Regions from separate parts of the Homo sapiens genome. Here regions 1, 3, 4, 5 and 6 are each linked to region 2. Evidence: promoter capture Hi-C in 16 types of primary human blood cells and fetal thymus (Javierre and others, 2016). All regions are on one chromosome and are shown on one strand. The core of a region is centred on a gene start or on the middle of the fragment in contact, and the rest is flanking DNA. Distances in the headings are between cores, read along the strand shown.

Region 1 (2,907 bases), core at 322-2,821, 690 kb before region 2:
CAATTTATGGGGCCACAACTGTATACCTGGGCTGAATTGATGTCTATTCTAGGTATTCTCTTCTTAGGAGAGGAAAGAACCATGATCTGCAAGGCTGCTATGATAGCCTGGGAGCGCAAGCACCCCCCTCGTCAGAATGTCCTTGCAGCAGAGCATAAATTCCCGGCCCAGGACCCTCAATGGGATAACAACAGTGCGGCTCACCGGGAAAACATGAGAGATAGGGATATGATAATTAAAGGGATTCAGGAATCAGTTCCTCCAACCCAAAACATTTCCCAAGCATTTAATGTACAGCAAGAGAAAGATGAAGGGCCCATGGAATTCTTAAACAGACTTAAGGAACAGATAAGAAAATACGCAGGTTTGGACATAGAGGACCCACTAGGACAAAGGATGTTAAAGCTCCACTTTGTCACCAATAGTTGGCCAGACACTATAAAGAAATTATAAAAGATAGAAAATTAGAAAGACTGTCCCATAGAGGAACTTTAAAGAGAGGTCCAAAAGGTATATGTACGGAGGGATGAGGAAAGGCAGAAGCAAAAGGCAAAAATTATGCTGTCCACCCTACAACAGGGAACTTTTCAACAGGCATCCCAGGGAAATAGAACTTGTAAACCTTCTGAGTACCAGGCTGCCAGACCCTATACAGGAAGCAAAGGGACGAAACCTGAGAATCAGGGAACCAGGAGGGGGAGAAGGAAAAACAGATGTTTCAGATGTGGAAAGCCAGGACATTTTAAGAGGAAATGTCCCGAATGGGAGAGGGAAAAGAAAGTCCTTTCACTCATGACATTTGAAGAACAGTGGGCTCAGGGGCTCTACGTCTTCCATCTTGAGTCCCACCAAGAGCCCTTGATAAATTTAACGGTGGGACCCAAATTGGAAATAGTCACTTTCCTGGTCAATTCGGGAGCAGCTGGCTCCTGCCTATGTTTTCTCCCATCAGATTTATCCTGTTCAGCCGAAGACCTTACTGTCTCAGGAGTTAAAGGGGAAGGATTCAGAGCAAAAATTCTAGAGGAAACCGAAGTCAAATATAAGAATAAGTCGGTTGCTACTAAGTTCTTCTTAATTCCTGAAGCAGGAACTAATTTATTAGGAAGGGACTTAATGTTAAGGTTAGGCACAGGCCTATATGTTAATCAAGGAAAACTCCTTACTTCCTTAAACGTACTCACCACTTCAGAAGAAAGCCGCATCCATCCCAACGTATGGTCGAAAGAAGGGAATCGAGGATGGGTTCCTCCAATCCATGTCAAATTAAAAACTCCTGGGGAAATAGTGAAACAAAAACAATACCCTATTCCCTTGGAAGCCAGGATAGGTTTATAACCTATAATTGAAAGCCTTGTCCACGAAAACAATACCCTATTCCCTTGGAAGCCAGGATAGGTTTAAAACCAGGATAGTTTTAAAACCTGTAATTGAAAGACTTGAACCCTGTATGTCCCCTTATAACACTCCAATATTGCCTGTAAGGAAGTCAGACGGGTCATACCAGCTAGTGCAAGACCTCTGGGCTATTTACCAAATAGTTCAGACCATCCACCCTGTTGTTCCCAATCCTTACACCATTTTCAGTAGAATCCCGCATAACCACCAATGGTTCACGGTGACAGATTTAAATGATGCCTTTTGGGCTTGCCCTTTAGCAGAGGACAGCTGGGACAAATTTGCCTTTGAGTGAGAGGACCCTCACTCCGGTCGATGGACAGTCTTGCCCCAAGGTTTACAGAGTCCCCAAATCTATTTGGTCATATTTTAGAGCAAGTCCTAGAAAACTTCTCCCTGCCTTCATCCATATGCCTACTCAAATACGTAGATGTCCTGCTCATTTCAGGAGATAACAAGGATCAAGTAACAGCAATTTCAGTTAACTTCCTAAATTTCCTAAGGGGACAAGGATTACGGGTCTCAAAGAACAACATCCAATTCATAGAATCTGAGGTAAAATATCTAGGACACCTAATCAGTAAAGGTGAACGAAAGATAGGATCCGAACGAATTGAAGGTATCCTGTCTTTGCCTTTACCTGAAACAAAGCAGGAACTTAGGAAATTATTAGGATTGGTTGGATATTGTCATCTGTGGACTGACTCTTATGCCTTAAAAACAAAGCCCCTATATCAAAAACTCACTCAAGAAGGACCAGACCCCCTCCTTTGGACCCCATCAGAGATCCAACGGTAAAAGAATTAAAACACCTACTTGTAACTGCCCCTGTTCTAACTTTGCCCTCCTTAGAACAGCCATTCCATCTTTTCATTAATGTAAGCAAAGGAGTGGCCTTAGGGGTACTCACCCAAAAACATGGAGGCCACCGGCAGCCTGTAGTCTTTCTGTCAAAAATCCTTGACCCAGTAACCCGTGGATGGCCCGAATGTGTTCAATCCATAGCAGCAACTGCCTTGCTAACAGAAGAAAGCAGGAAAATAACCTTTGGGGGAAACCTCTTCGTAAGTGCCCCTCATCAAGTCAGAACCATTCTTAATCAGAAGGCAGGGAGATGGCTCACTGACTCAAGGATTTTAAAATATGAAGCTATCTTATTAGAGGGAGATAACCTAACACTAACCACTGACAATTCACTCAACCCCGCTGCTTTCCTAACAGGAAATCCAAACCAGGAGGAATGTGAGCATAACTGCTTAGATCTAATCAGTTTTCAAACTAGAGTCAGACCGCATCCAGGCATGAAACCCCCTTCCAAACAGGGCATCACCTCTTTATAGACGGCTCCTCCCAGGTCATTGAAGGAAAAAGGCACAACGGGTACTCCATAGTTGATAGGGAAACCCTCACAGTGGTAGAGTCAGAAAGACTGCCAAATAAGTGGTCTGCCCAAATATGTGAACTCTTTGCATTAAACCAAGCCTTAAAATCCCTGCAGAATCAGGAAGG
Region 2 (2,736 bases), core at 18-2,517:
GCGCTTTGCCGCCGGTGGACTTGCGAGCTGTTTGCTTTGTTCGTGCCATGGCTAAGTAGACGTACCTACTCAACACAAATGAGAGAAAAAAACTGATCATCCCGGTATTTATAGCTGCCCTCGCGTTCTGATTGGACAGTAGACTGTGCCATGCCACGTCTCACACACGGAATTGGCTCCCAGTTTAATCTGCTAGTGAAAGGGAGACATTCCGCCTCTGTTTTGGGTCAAGAAACGTAAAATGGTTTTGCTAGCTAAAGAAAAACAAAAACGGAAACAAAAAAAAATCCCCCAAAAGTCTAGGATTTTTCATGCATCAAAATCCTGTTTAAATATAAGCTTGATAAATCTAAACTTGCCTTGCACTATTTTAATTACGAGGTGTCATTACTGATTTGACAAAAAGTTAAAGAACGTAAAGGAAAAGTGAAACTAGAGTAAATTTGTAAATGGAGGCATTGAAGGGGATATGAAATTCGAGCGTTGTGGTATGCCAGTATTTCTCAAATTTAAACGTACTTAATGTTTTAGAAGTTGGCCGACTTTTTCTGTAAAGGGCGATATTAAAACATTTTGGGCGTTGCGGACCACAGTGTCATAGTTACACAGCCCTCGCATTGGTAGCGGTAAAGTAATCGATACAAGATAAATGAGACCGGCTGTTTCATTATGACTTTTGCAAAAACCAGAGAGGCGTTATAGATTTGGCCGTGTATCAGAGAAGCCGGCACTTTTAACCACTAAGTAATGCTGAAAGGGGCACCGAACCTCAAACTTCAGCGACTGCTTATGTGGAATCGCTAATTTGCCAAAACTGCCATACGTTTAAGTGTTCTTAAGAAATTAACTATCTTTAGTCTACAGCTCTTTCACAGACTTCATGGGTGGCCCTGAGAAGGGCCTTTGAGGAACCGTGTAAGTAAGTAAAACACTCAGCCGCCAAAGCCATACAGGGTGCGGCCCTGGCGCTTGAGCGCGTAAACCACGTCCATGGCTGTGACTGTCTTGCGTTTGGCGTGCTCCGTGTAGGTAACTGCATCGCGGATTACATTCTCCAAAAACACTTTAAGAACTCCGCGTGTCTCCTCGTATATAAGGCCTGAGATGCGCTTAACGCCTCCACGCCGTGCCAGGCGTCGGATGGCGGGCTTGGTGATGCCCTGAATGTTGTCGCGCAGAACTTTGCGGTGGCGCTTAGCGCCTCCTTTGCCCAGACCCTTCCCGCCTTTGCCGCGCCCAGACATGTCTTGTACTAAACAAAATGCAACACGGCAAGCCTCGCAGCAGTACTTTATATAGTAATAAATCGGACCTGATTGGGAACTCTCCACACCAGCTGCATCCGGTCGGCCGATTCACAGACCTTGCGCCCTGCCCACGACTTCAGGAAAAAATGGAAAAGGGGGTACTTAAACTCCAGTTTCTAAAAATGATGCCCAGTTAAAAATTACTCAGCTCATCTTGCCCTTCTACAGTGTTTTAGGCTGACCACCGCTGCATTCCATTGTCTGGGTCTTTGCAGCCTGTTTTTCCTGTCACCTCTTAGCATCGATTGTTCTAGTGCTTTGTGGCTGCTGGAATCAAATGGCGCCATCTCTAGAGGGGTAATCACAGTCGTTTCGGGCATTTGTGAAATAGCGTGTAGAAACTGCTTCCGTACAAACTCGAAGTGATCAGCCTATGGAGTGGCTGACTGCAAAAGACGACGCCTGATGATAGCTCCAAGGTGGGATTCCTCACCTTTCTCAAATTTGGTTCTCTATTCTTTTCCTTATATTTTACTCTTTCTGTAGCTGTCCTTTCTGTTCCTTTCTCTCCCTCGCCAACCACATTTTTGGGGCAAGAACTTTCTATTTTTTTTTCCTCATTCCACCTAGAAACACTTCAGGAAGCTGTTTGAGAAAGAAAGGTGGCTTTTACCCTGTATTTCCTTAGAATTGTGAAGGTGCCGCTTGAGCTCCCTCATGTTCCTCTTTTCTGTTGAACTAGGAAATCAGCTGTGCCCAGAAACCCTGTCTTTTACATTTACAAATAAAGTGCAGGAGGAAAAGACCGAGGATGACTTTATTCCAAGAAAAAGAGTTTCAAATGGCCGGACGCGGTGGCTCACGCCTGTAATCCCAGCCAGAAGGGAGGCCGATGCATGTGGATCACAAGGTCAGGAGTTCGAGACCAGCCTGGCTAAGATGGCGAAACCCCTTCTCTACTAAAAATAAAGAAAATTGGCCTGGCGTGGTGGAGGGCGCCCATAATCCCAGCTACTCAGGAGGTTGAGGCAAGAAAATCGCTTGAACGCAGAAGGCGGAGGTTGCAGTGAGCCAAGATCGAGCCCCTGCACTCCATGCACTCCAGCCTGGGCAACAAAGTAAGAGTCCGTCTCAAAAAAAAGTTTCAAATAAATGTTGTGTGACCTTCCTGACCTAGGCTGGCTCTGCCTTGCCCTGCCTTCCAGCTATCAGATTTCGTTTCTCAGTAATGTTTACCTTTTATATTTCAAATGTGTATGATTATTTACCTCTTTAGCAAATATCTAATTTTATTCTAAAAATCAGTCTCTGCAAGTACATTATGAACTACTCTATGATTACTGTATGTGCAAAACATTACATACTCATGTTGTAATAGTTAATCAGTTTCTCACTGAGCTAGGCTGGCCTCTTTTTCCTTTTTTTTTTTTTTTTTTTTTTTTTTTTGACAGAGTTTTGGTCTTGTCACCCCAGGCTGGAGTGCAATGGT
Region 3 (2,823 bases), core at 78-2,577, 760 kb before region 2:
AAAATTGAAGATCCTTTTTCATATACAGTTATGCTCTTTTCTTTATAACCTTCCTTTATACAATCATTCTTTATGACCTTCCTTACCAAAAATACATCTCCACATCCATAACTTTCTTCACATCTCTCTCCTACTTATAGATTCCTTATTTCATAGCCTTTTCTAATCCATAATTTGAATCAACCTTTATATAGTTTCTGAATTTGACAAAATTATTATCTCAATAAGAACACATTTTAACTAAATATTTTTATTTGCCACTTCAAAAGTTACCTAAGCCTCTTCCATGGAGATGGTAAGGTGTCCAGTGGGAGCTGTGGGGGACCTTGGGCCCGGTCAGTCTTGTTTTCTTGGCCATTATGGGTTTGGGTAGCCTAGGCTCCCTTTGAAGCTTGGAACAGTCCCTTTTTCAATGGCCCTCTTGCTTACAGAAGGCACAGTGATATTGGCCCTGGGGCCAGCAAGTTCGGGGCTCTCATCTGGGCATCTGAGATGCTGATCTCAAATCTCCTCAGGCTGGCTAACCCTGAGGTGGGAGAGGGTGCTTAAAGTAGTCACTAACAATTGCATTTTGGATATTATTTCTTTTGGTTATCTCTGCCTGTTTTGACCTGTGCCTATTGTTGTAAACTGGAAAGGCCATATTTAAAAATTGGCTTATAGGAGTTTGCGTTTCCCCTTTCTGCCTGTTATAGCTTCCTCCTAACATCAAGGACAGACTGAGTGATAAAAGAGTTTGCCTTTCTGGGGAGTCTGTCCTGCAATATTTCCTGAGTGCCTCAACCAAACAGCCCTGACTAGAATAGGATTTTTATCCTCCCCTACAGTTACTTCTCTAACCTTGTCATAATTAACTGGATTAAGCACACTTTCATATCTTCTATTAAACAAGTTACCTATGATTTCTACATTTGAGATCTCAGGAACCCCTCTGGTAATCCCATGGGGGTCCAAATCTGGAAGTACACTCCCACATACAATAAATGGCATGATCCTGGTTACAAGCAGCCATTCCATCAGCATATGCCCAGGCAGTATTCAAAAATCCCTTGTTTCTCCTCTACAGCACAGCAGGTGGACACTATTTGCAAGTCATGCCAAGTTACATCAAACTATAAACTTCCCTGGATCCTCTGATACCAGCCAATGTTTCCCTTGCATGAAGCTAAATCAGACATGGAAAAAGGCACAAGTACTGTTCCCGCCATTAGCAACGTCTCAACCTCTCACAATAGATGTAAGTTTGATTTTAAGGGCTGATAGGACTTTATCACTCCTGATTAGACTGGTTGGACTTATTTCCTCAGGCAGTATGGCATATAGGCTGGAGCTAGTTGGTTAAAGCAGAGGGGTGCCTGATGAACTTGGGATGGAATCCTGTAGTGGAGAACTGGCAGGACCCCCTTCCTCATATTAAGGCACCAAGGAGGCTCCAGGGAGAGTGAACCATTTTTAGGCCAAATTTCTTGGGAAATTAATTTGTACTAAACACTGTTATAATAGAAGATGAGTTTTTAAGACATCAAATTTGAATTTGCTTTAGTTGCCTAAAAGGCACCCTAGCAGGAAGTGTTTCAGGACGCTCACTGTTGTTATGTCTACCAGAGATACCTACTAAACCCAGAAATTCTTCCAAGTCCAGAGAGTCCAGTTACTTTTCCTTTCAAATTTCCACCTCCCTTTTCTTCAAGAGCAGTAGGGAAATTACCACTGACTCCTGCCAAAAGAACATGGGTATCAAGAAGTAGGTGCCACAAAAGTGAAAGATGAGTGGGCAGTGGGCTGGCAACTACCATCACTAGCTAATGGAATGTTACAAAGAAGGCACTTTAAGTATGGAAGTAAAAAAACGCTGACCAAATTAAGAACCCTTAGTGGAAATTTAAACCCCAATCTTAGAAAGGTGACCAAAAAACAAAGCCCCTAGGGCAGGACTCTCAATTCTAACGCCACGTAGAGTGGGACTGACAATAACCCAATAAATTCCCCCTAGAGTGGGACTCTAACCCAATCCTAGAAGGAACATGGCTCTGACATACAACCATGCATTTAGGAACTGAATGGTAATATCAAGTAGCCAGTCATTAGAGATTTAATAGACGATGGTCAAAAACGGGGCAATGGGGACATAATCTGAACATGGGACTAGCTGGAGGCCCCACTTTCATTTCCTGGTTTACCCAGAAAGGTCAATATGACAGGGAAATCACAGAAACCACATGGTGCCAATTGGCCATTAATTTGGGTCCAGGCAAAGGTTTCCAAAGCTTCAGTGTACAACCAGTTAGTCACCAAGAAAACATGGCTCTGAAAAGAGCCTTTGGCTAGTATATAGCATTACAGTATCACAACTCCAAACTTTATCTTGATGGTCAACCCGCTCATCTTGATGCTCCCTTCATGGTCTCTTCATTTTGATGGTTCCTTCCTTCAGGGTCACCAGGCTGACACAGGTGAACCCCAAAATTGGGACTTAACCCTGGAGGGCTTTTGGCTTCAGAGTTAATTTAAAAACACTTCCTAGACCAATAGTGTACAGCAAACTGCTCCATAAACAAAGGGCGACCTGTGTGCTAACCCACAGGCAGCACAGCCTGTAGTAGTAGTATACAGAAAAGTGGGTGCTCCACAGAGCACAAGCTAACCCACAGGCAGAGCAGCCAAGTAGCAGCATGCAGCAAAGTGGGCGCTCCACACAGCACAAGCTAACGCACAGGCAGAGCAGCCCAGAGTAGCAGCATGCAGCATAATAGGTGCTCCACAGAGCAAGGCTCACCCATAGAGCATCCCAGAGTAGCAGCATAGTACAGCAAAGCGGGTGCT
Region 4 (2,744 bases), core at 175-2,674, 720 kb before region 2:
TGTGCCACTGTACTCCAGCCTGGGTGACAGAGTGAGACTCCAGCTCAAAAAAAAAAAAAAAAAAAAAAAAAACACCTATAAGAGATATTTGGTGCCGACCACTTATGGGCTACATATGCAATATGAATGTGCTTATTTATTTCTCACAACCTTTTGAGGTGGGTATTGTTTGGACTCTAATTTGGAAAAGAAAGTGTGGTGTTACTTATCCAATCAGATTCTCAATTAGTAGGAGAAAAAGCTATCAGAATATTATCTACTCAACATGGAACACACACATAACTGCCTTCTCTTAACTATCTGGTCTCATGTGCTTTAGTCTAAGGTATATAGAAACTTGGGTAAGAATTGTTAAAGGGAGATGTTGAAAGGTTCTACCAGAAGAGTATCATGATCATATCTGAATTAATAGATACCAAATGAGAAAGAATAAAACTAGACTTAATTATTCAAACAGTGTTTACAATAGTTTAAAGTGAATAGCTAAAGATTCCTGAAAATGGGAATCACACTTAAAATATATACTTTAAAAAAATATATTTTTAAAACACACACAATTTTTAAAATGCATACATACATGCTTTTCCTCAGTTCCGCCCTTCCCCCTCATCTTCATACCTATTACAGATGGAGTCGTTGTCATGCATTCCTTGTAAGGAATAATTCTGAGAAAATCAAAATAGTAAAGTCACATCTAAAAATATGTGAAGGTTTATACCCCAGAGGAGCTGCATGATTTAAATAATTAACAATGACAAAATATGGGAAATATATGTGATTATGGATAATGAAGGGTGCTTAACTAAAGACGGAATAATATAATTTTATATCAGGCTAACTATTGACATGGCTTCACTTACCTGGGAAGCTAGATTCTATGTGTAATAGTAAACACCTGGGAGGAATAGTGATTGTTTACAAGGCTGACTGGTATCTGGACTCAGAACTGGCCATCAGTAAATCAACTTGAGATCCCAAATATGCCTTGGAATCACACAAAGGAAAACACCAAAAAAAAAAAAAAAAAAAAAAAAAGGAGGTAAAATTGCTGGTGTACGTTGATATTGCTTGACTTATTAAAAGCTAACTTTATTCACAGCAGAATTGCTAACTTTTTTCTATTCACAGCAAAATTGCCATTTTTGAAGAAACCAGTGCATTTTCTAATTTACTTGAAGCTGTAAGATTTAATAAAATTAACGGACTGGAATTAGAAAGTGTATTCAGGGATTGGTCTGTCTGATTCTATCTGGTACTCCTGTAGCTTTGCACTTGCGATTTCCCAAGCCCAGAGTGTTTGTCCTACCAGCCTCTCCTTGGGTAACTCCTATTCATTCTTCAATTTTCATAATATGGCACCTCCTCAATGAGGTATTCTCTTATTCTTAGTTCTCGTTATGCCTTCTGGGTTTACCAGATCAAGTTCTTTTTTTATTTTTTTGAGACGGAGTCTTGCTCGGTAGTCCAGGCTGGAGTGCAGTGGCGCGATCTTCGCTCACTGCAACCTCCGCCTCCTGGGTTCAAGTGATTCTCCTACCTCAGCCTCCCAAGTAGCTGGGATTACAGGCGCGTGCCACCGCTCCCTGCTAGGTTTTTTGTATTTTTTCTACAGATGGGGTTTCACTGTGTTAGCCAGGACAGTCTCAATCTCCTGACCTCGTGATCTGCCGGCCTCAGCCTCCCAAAGTGCTGGGATTAGAGGCGTGATCTTCCGCGCCCAGCCCAGATCAGGTTCTTAAACTCCACATCATCACCGCTTCTCAGCCTTTTGGCTAAGACCAAGTGTTTTCAGCCTTTTGGCTAAGATCATCTGTTCTTATGGGTTTAAACTCCATGTCAATGACTATATTTTGAAAGTAAATATCTTATTTGTATTTTCATTTAATATCTGTAAACACAGCAGCATATAAGCTAAAAGAGGTCAATATGTCAGCCAGTGTCCCATCAGGAGAGATTAGTCCTTCAAATTGGGTACTTTGGGCCTGATGCAGTGACTCATGCCTGTAACCCCAACATTTTGGGAGGCCGAGGCGGGCAGATCACTTGAGGTCCAGAGTTCGAGGCCAGCCTGGCCAACATGGTGAAACCCCGTCTCTACTAAAAATACAAAAAAATTAGCCAGGCGTGGTGGTGGGCACCTGTAATCCCAGCTACTCAGGAGACTGAGGCAGGACCTTGAACCCAGGAGGCGGAGGTTGCAGTGAGCTGAGATTGCACCACTGCACTCCAGCCTGGGTGACAGAGCAAGACTCCGTCTCAAAAAACAAACAAACAACAACAACAACAACAACAACCAATTGGGTGCTTGAAGATTGAAAAAGAAGTGAGCAAGGTGTTAGGAAGCCACAAGAGATAGTGCAGTATTTTGAAGCTAATACCATATATAAGTAATTACCACACCTAGGCCCAAAGGGGCAATGAGAGGAAAGGAAATCTGGAAACAGAAAGAACTCCTTCCTCTCTCTGACATATTTTCACTTTTCATCAGCCAAATTTGACCAGCAGCCAAAGGACAAGGATCAAATTCATGTATAGATCAGCCTCCTAGGGACACAGGATGAAAGAAGGGGACAGTGGGCCGGGCACGGTGGCTCACGCCTGTAATCCCAGCACTTTGGGAGGCCGAGGTGGGCATATCACAAGGTCAGGATATCAAGACCATCCTGGCCAACATGGTGAAACCCCGTCTCTACTAAAAATACAAAAATTAGCTGGGCATGGTGGTGGCCGCCTGTAATCCCAGC
Region 5 (2,831 bases), core at 67-2,566, 670 kb before region 2:
ACCAAGTTCATGGCTGAGGCCTCTATAACAAAATACAGATTAAACAAGAGAAAAGCATACAAGTGTATTTAACATAAGCTTTGTGTGATATGAGAGACTAGAAATGAAGACCTAAAGAAACAGGGAAACATTTGTAGTTTTATGATAGGTTGACGAAGAGAAGATAGTTATGCAGAAGTATAATTGTACAAAGAGGGTGTGATGTAAGGATAATAAACTGGGGGAATTTAGCAAGGCTTACTTGTTCAGGTTCTTCTGTGTGTCCCTGTGTCTTCAGAGAAAAACATGTTCCTTTCCTCCAGTTATAGGAAGGGCACCTCTGGAATGAAGATCTCCTGACCTGCTTTAGGGGAGAAGGGCTACGGAAAAGTGAGAGTGACCTACTTGCTTCTGTGGTTTTGTCAAATGTCAAGATGTCATATCTCGGGGTAGCATGTTCTGAACCCCATCATCTGAATTATCTTATTTAGTTATTTACTTGGTGGTTGCAAGAAAGCTCCCCAAAACAGGAACTCTGTTTTATTCATAACTATATTTCCAGAGCTTTTTGCCACAAATTCCTATGTAGTGTTTGCATTTCTGATCACTTGCTTGAATTACCTCTACTATTGTTTATTCCAGAACTACTCCTTTGGCTTCTGCAATATCAGTTGTCCTGACTTTCTTTCTATTCCTCTGATACTTGTCATAGTCTTCTTCATAGGACCCTCTTCTCATAAAATTGCAGGATCGAAACTCTTTTTCTTTTTTTTTTTTTTTTGAGACAGCGTCTTGCTCTGTCACCCAGGCTAAAGAGTGTAGTGGTGTGATCTCGGCTCATTGCAACCTCTGCCCCTCAGGTTCATGCGATTCTCCTGCCTCAGCATCCTGAGTAGCTAGGATTACAGGCACGCACCATGACGCTTGGCTGATTTTTTGTATTTTTAGTAGAGACAGAGTTTCACCATGTTGGTCAGGCTGGTCTCCAACTCCTGGCCTCAGGTAATCCACCCACCTGGGCCTCCCAAAGTGCTGGGATTACAGGCGTGAGCCAAGGCACCCGGCTGAAACTTCTTTTAAACCACTTAGATTGGAATGCTGCTGTTGAAATTGAATTGGGTGATCTTTACTATCTCTTGAAGAGCTACTTTTAAAAAATAGTAACAGTTGTATTAATCAGGGTTCTCCAGAGAAACAGAACCAATAGGAGGTGTGTATATACAGAAAGATATTTATTTTAAGGCATAGGTTCACACAACTGTGGAGGTTGACAAAGATTATTTGTTTGGTCAAACTTTAGTCAGGCTCCTGAACTGTCTCCAGGGCCCATCTGTGTTCTTCCTTGTAAAACCAGTTTTAGCAAGAACCCTGATAAATCAGTTTAACAACAATCCCCTACCCTTGATATCTGCTCCCCCTCCATAGCTGATCAGGTTCCTCATCCTCCACCATCCCCCAGGTAAGGTCTGATGGCCCTGGCCTGTCTTCAGCAAGAATCCTGTTAGGTCTGTTCAGCCAGAATCCCCTTACCCCTGATGCTTCCTCTTAGTAATTTTCCATCCACTGACCACCCACCACCCCGATCCTTGGCTATAAATTCCCACTTGTCCATGCAGTATTCAGAGTTGAGCCCAATCTCTTCTCTACTGCAAGACTCCTTTGTGGACCCTATTACCTACCATGGTGGTCCTGAATAAAGTCTCTCTTACCATGATTTAATAAGTGTCCTTAACCGAAGAGCCTCAGATCGCAGCCCGCTGCCACCTGCGTCCTGGGCTAAGAGGCAGCATCAAGGATAAGGGGCATTCCGGCTAAACAGACTTAACAGGATTCTTGTTACCTGCCCGAGGTCCTTGTCAGTTCTTAAGGACAGGTGCTTTGCATTATCCTCCAGCACTCTCCCACCCACTGCAACATTCCCCTCTCACCATGCAGGTGGTAAGTAAATTTTGGTTGAAAATATTTATCCAGCAAGAGATGAATTGCCCGGCTAATGTCACTGCCGGACGCCCGGGTAGTCGCCACTTGGTTTAAAGGCGGAGCTGTTCTTGCATTTCAAAGAAATCCAGATTCCGAAAGTAAGTAACAACCATGCCCGTGGCCCGGTTCCTTTCTCTTACACTCTTCCAAGGACCCCTTTTAGACCTAGAGGAAACCCCGCAGAAGTGACAGGGAGAGGGGGAAAGCTCTTTTACAGTGGCGAAACCACGTGGCTGCGAGAGCTTCTCAGGGAGAGCTCCTGTTTTCAAAGTCTGGCAAATTTATCAGTTTGATTTTTCTTAAACATTTATATTTTTATGGAGTAGAAAATCTACCAAACGAGTAAAGAATGTTTCCGCCTGGTTTCAAACCGGGGACCTTTCGCGTGTGAGGCGAACGTGATAACCACTCCACTACGGAAACAACTGTGGGAAAGGGTTACCCACATCCCCCCCGCCCCCATCCCCACCCCGCCGCTTAACTAAGAGGGCTTTGCCTGAAGGGCCTGGACTGCCTTATACGTCTGTTTAGAAAATGATCGTTGTGGTGCAGTTCTCTCCTTTTACTGTTTTCGAAAAGAAAAGCAATTCATAACCAAGCTTCCCCAGGGCTCCAATTCCCGCACAAATTTCAAACATGGAAAGCTAGAACGGAATGCTACAGAATTTTATTTCAAGACCTCCCTATGCTGTCTATGCACGTTTCTTTATCTGCAAAACCCGCCCCGATAGTCATATCTTGGTGACTTTTGGGAAAACCATGAAGGAGCGACCTGAGACCAGGAGATGATTGGAGGCCATCAGCACTTTCTGCCATAGCTGCTCTCATCATTTTGTTTGCAGTCAAATAACTAGAAGTAGTCATGGCTTCTG
Region 6 (2,854 bases), core at 184-2,683, 600 kb before region 2:
CTTAGACTTCCATCCTCCTATTGCAAATTTTTGGTATCTATGAGCATACACCGTATCTGATGTATGCCATGATACTTCGCACATGTGGAAAGGCTGCATCAAAGAACATGTACATTGGCAATTTTGATGGCCATTGTCACACTGTGCTTTAGAGGGTTGATCCCAATACTCTTTTTGCTTGCTTGTTTGTTTTAACTATACTTAGCACTAATATGATCCTGAACACATTTCTTTTCTTTTGCTTTTTTTTTTTCCGGTGAGACGGAGATTTACTTTTGTTGCTCAGGCTGGAGTGCAATGGCGCGATCTCGGCTCACTGCCTCCCAGGTTCAAGCGATTCTCCTGCCTCAGGCTCCCGAGTAGCTGGGATTACAGGCATGTGTCACCACTCCCGGCTAATTTTGTACTTTTAGTACAGACGGGGTTTCACCGTGTTGCCCAGGCTGTTCTCGAACTCCTGACCTCAGGTTATCCGCCCCCTTGGCCTCCCAAAGTGCTGGGATTACAGGCGTGAGCCACTGCGCCCGGCCAATCCTGGACACATTTCTACACCTTCTTCCTGAATTCCCTGCTACAAATTCGAAGCGAAACTAGGCAATCGGTATGTAGATTGTCTAGTTGGGGCATACTAGATTCTGGAACATTGTTTTGGGGGTACAAGTAATGACGTAAAGGGAATGTGATAGAATCAGGCGGGAGAAGGAAGGGGCTGAGGGGACAGCACGGAGAAGGAGCCAACAGTGGCCTTATTTTGTGCACCTAGGAGAGTACAACACGGGCAGAAACACCTGAGGGACAGGAACTAAGACACGTCATTCTGTCTGGAGATTAAGACTGAGCTGCAGAGTGGTACAGGGCGAGTAGTAGGAGATGAAGTCTGAGGAAGAAAGAACATTTATCAATACATGATGCAAAACCCTCTAGTAGATTACTATAAATGAATCAGAATACTTGATGGTAAGTGGATGGGGCACTAAAAATAAATTGGCCGGGCGCGGTGGCTCACGCCTGTAATCCCAGCACTTTGGGAGGCCGAGGTGGGAGGATCACCTGAGGTCAGGAGTTAGAGGCCAGCCTGGCTAACATGGTGAAACGCCATCTCTACTAAAAATGCAAAAATTAGCTGGGCTTGGTGGCGGGCGCCTGTAGTCCCAGCTACTCGGGAGGCTGAGGCAGGAGAATGACGTGAACCTGGGAGGCGGAGCTTGCAGTGAGCCAAGATAGCGCCACTGCACTCTAGCCTGGGCGACAGAGCAGGACTCCGTCTAAAATAAATAAATAAAAATAAAAAAGGAATTATCAGGTGTTAATTGATCTACATTAAGTCTAAACTAAGAACTATGATCACTATAGGCCAAGTTAAGGATTTTTGAATTGGTCTTAACAACAATGGGAAACTATGCAAGGATTTTAGGCAGAAAAGTCACATGGACGGATTCACATTTTTAAAATTTGTTTATTATTTATTTTTGAGACGGAGTCTGACTCTGTCTCCCAGGCTGGAGTACAGTGGAGCGATCTCAGCTCACTGCAACCTCCACCTCCCGGGTTCAAGCGATTCTCCTGCCTCAGGCTCCTCAGTAGCTGGGATTACAGGCATGCGCCACCACACTCAGCCATTTTTTTTTTTTTCGTATTTTTAGTAGAGACGGAATTTCGCCATGTTGGCCAGACTGGTCTGGAACTCCTGACCTCAAATGTTCCACCCGCCTCGGCCTCCCAAAGTGCCGGGATTACAGGTGAGAGCCACCGCGCCCAGCCAGATTCACGTTTTAAAAAGATCTCTTTAACTTTGTGTAACAACCGCACAGGTCCAGTTCTAGACACTTGACAGGCATCAGGGAACTATAGCAACACATCACTAGTACCGGGCCAATGAAATATCTGCCCTCATAGAGTATGGAAACAGATATAAATAACAAACATAATAAAAATGTGAATTATAAAATGTGTAAGAAGGTGTTAAATGTGATTGGTAAATAGAGGCAGGTAGGAAGAACTGGAGTGATGAGAGTAGGTTGGAAAGCTAGAGTTGTTAGTATAGCCTTAATAAGATTGTGACTGGAAGAAAAGGAGCAATCAAGCCACCTGACATGTGAGGTGTCACAAGCAGAGTACAACCACTATAAAAGTCTAAAGGTGGGTACTTGCATGGAATGTTTGAGGAACAGTAAAAGGGTTCATGTGGCCAGAGTACAAGAGAGGGAGACAGTAATAGAGATGAGATCAGAGAGAAATGAAGGATCGGAGTATATAGGATCTTGTAGGAGATCTTAGGAATTTGGCTTTAATTCAAGTAGAACGGGAAGCTATTGTATAATTCTGATTTTAGGAGAGGCAAATCTGATACATGCTTTAAAATACTGCTTTTAGTAGGTCTTTTGTAAATAGACTATAGGGGACTATATTCGGTTTTATATTCAGATTGCATTAGCCGGGCGCGGTGGCTCACGCCTGTAATCCCAGCACTTTGGGAGGCCGAGGCGGGCTGATCACGAGGTCAGGAGATTGAGACCATCCTGGCTAACATGGTGAAACCCCGTCTCTACTAAAAATACAAAAAATTAGGTAGGCGTGGTGGCAGGCGCCTGTAGTCCCAGCTACTCGGGAGGCTGAGGCAGGAGACTGGCGTGAACCCGGGAGGCAGAGCTTGCAGTGAGCCGAGATCGAGCCACTGCACTCCAGCCTGGGCGACAGAGCGAGACTTCGTCTCAAAAAAAAAAAAAAAAAAAAAAAAAAGATTGCATTAGGTTATTGTATTCTATGAGAAACAGACTCCAGGATATAGTTTTCATGAAGGAAGTCTATTGTGTATCCAGGAATGATATACAAAAGAGGACTCAACCATTCCCAT

Evidence for each region. Contacts are between HindIII fragments. The CHiCAGO score rates a contact against its expected background, and 5 or more counts as called.
Region 1: a fragment that was not itself captured here is called in contact with the fragment with the promoter of H4C13 in region 2 in 13 of 17 cell types (activated CD4 T cells, total B cells, monocytes and 10 more); the score reaches 14.0 in activated CD4 T cells.
Region 3: a fragment that was not itself captured here is called in contact with the fragment with the promoter of H4C13 in region 2 in 1 of 17 cell types (activated CD4 T cells); the score reaches 5.1 in activated CD4 T cells.
Region 4: a contact is called between a fragment that was not itself captured here and the fragment with the promoter of H4C13 in region 2, in 17 of 17 cell types (non-activated CD4 T cells, naive CD8 T cells, naive CD4 T cells and 14 more). The highest score is 26.4, in non-activated CD4 T cells.
Region 5: a contact is called between a fragment that was not itself captured here and the fragment with the promoter of H4C13 in region 2, in 1 of 17 cell types (total CD4 T cells). The highest score is 5.2, in total CD4 T cells.
Region 6: a contact is called between a fragment that was not itself captured here and the fragment with the promoter of H4C13 in region 2, in 1 of 17 cell types (naive B cells). The highest score is 5.1, in naive B cells.

The regions. Positions count from the first base shown.
Region 1 is chr6:27,180,084-27,182,990 of GRCh38, forward strand. No RefSeq gene overlaps it. Among named protein-coding and RNA genes, the nearest start is that of TRI-AAT5-2, 4.2 kb to the left of the region's middle. The HindIII fragment of the contact is 7,682 bases long and covers 1-2,907 here.
Region 2 is chr6:27,872,267-27,875,002 of GRCh38, forward strand. It overlaps H4C13 (H4 clustered histone 13), which reads right to left and starts at 1,268. Exons shown (of 1, transcript NM_003546.3): 1 at 882-1,268. The coding sequence starts at 1,244. The coding sequence ends at 933. H3C11 (H3 clustered histone 11) reads right to left here and starts at 80. Exons shown (of 1, transcript NM_003533.3): 1 at 1-80. The coding sequence starts at 49. RefSeq lists enhancers at 830-1,467, 899-948, 1,249-1,418, 1,499-1,548. The HindIII fragment of the contact is 4,758 bases long and covers 338-2,736 here.
Region 3 is chr6:27,112,088-27,114,910 of GRCh38, forward strand. No RefSeq gene overlaps it. Among named protein-coding and RNA genes, the nearest start is that of TRS-GCT1-1, 16 kb to the left of the region's middle. The HindIII fragment of the contact is 1,876 bases long and covers 390-2,265 here.
Region 4 is chr6:27,150,469-27,153,212 of GRCh38, forward strand. No RefSeq gene overlaps it. Among named protein-coding and RNA genes, the nearest start is that of MIR3143, 4.2 kb to the left of the region's middle. The HindIII fragment of the contact is 8,294 bases long and covers 1-2,744 here.
Region 5 is chr6:27,203,779-27,206,609 of GRCh38, forward strand. TRV-CAC6-1 (tRNA-Val (anticodon CAC) 6-1) reads right to left here and starts at 2,382; the gene lies at 2,310-2,382. The HindIII fragment of the contact is 2,480 bases long and covers 77-2,556 here.
Region 6 is chr6:27,276,211-27,279,064 of GRCh38, forward strand. No RefSeq gene overlaps it. Among named protein-coding and RNA genes, the nearest start is that of TRI-AAT3-1, 2.4 kb to the left of the region's middle. RefSeq lists a silencer at 272-442. The HindIII fragment of the contact is 5,617 bases long and covers 1-2,854 here.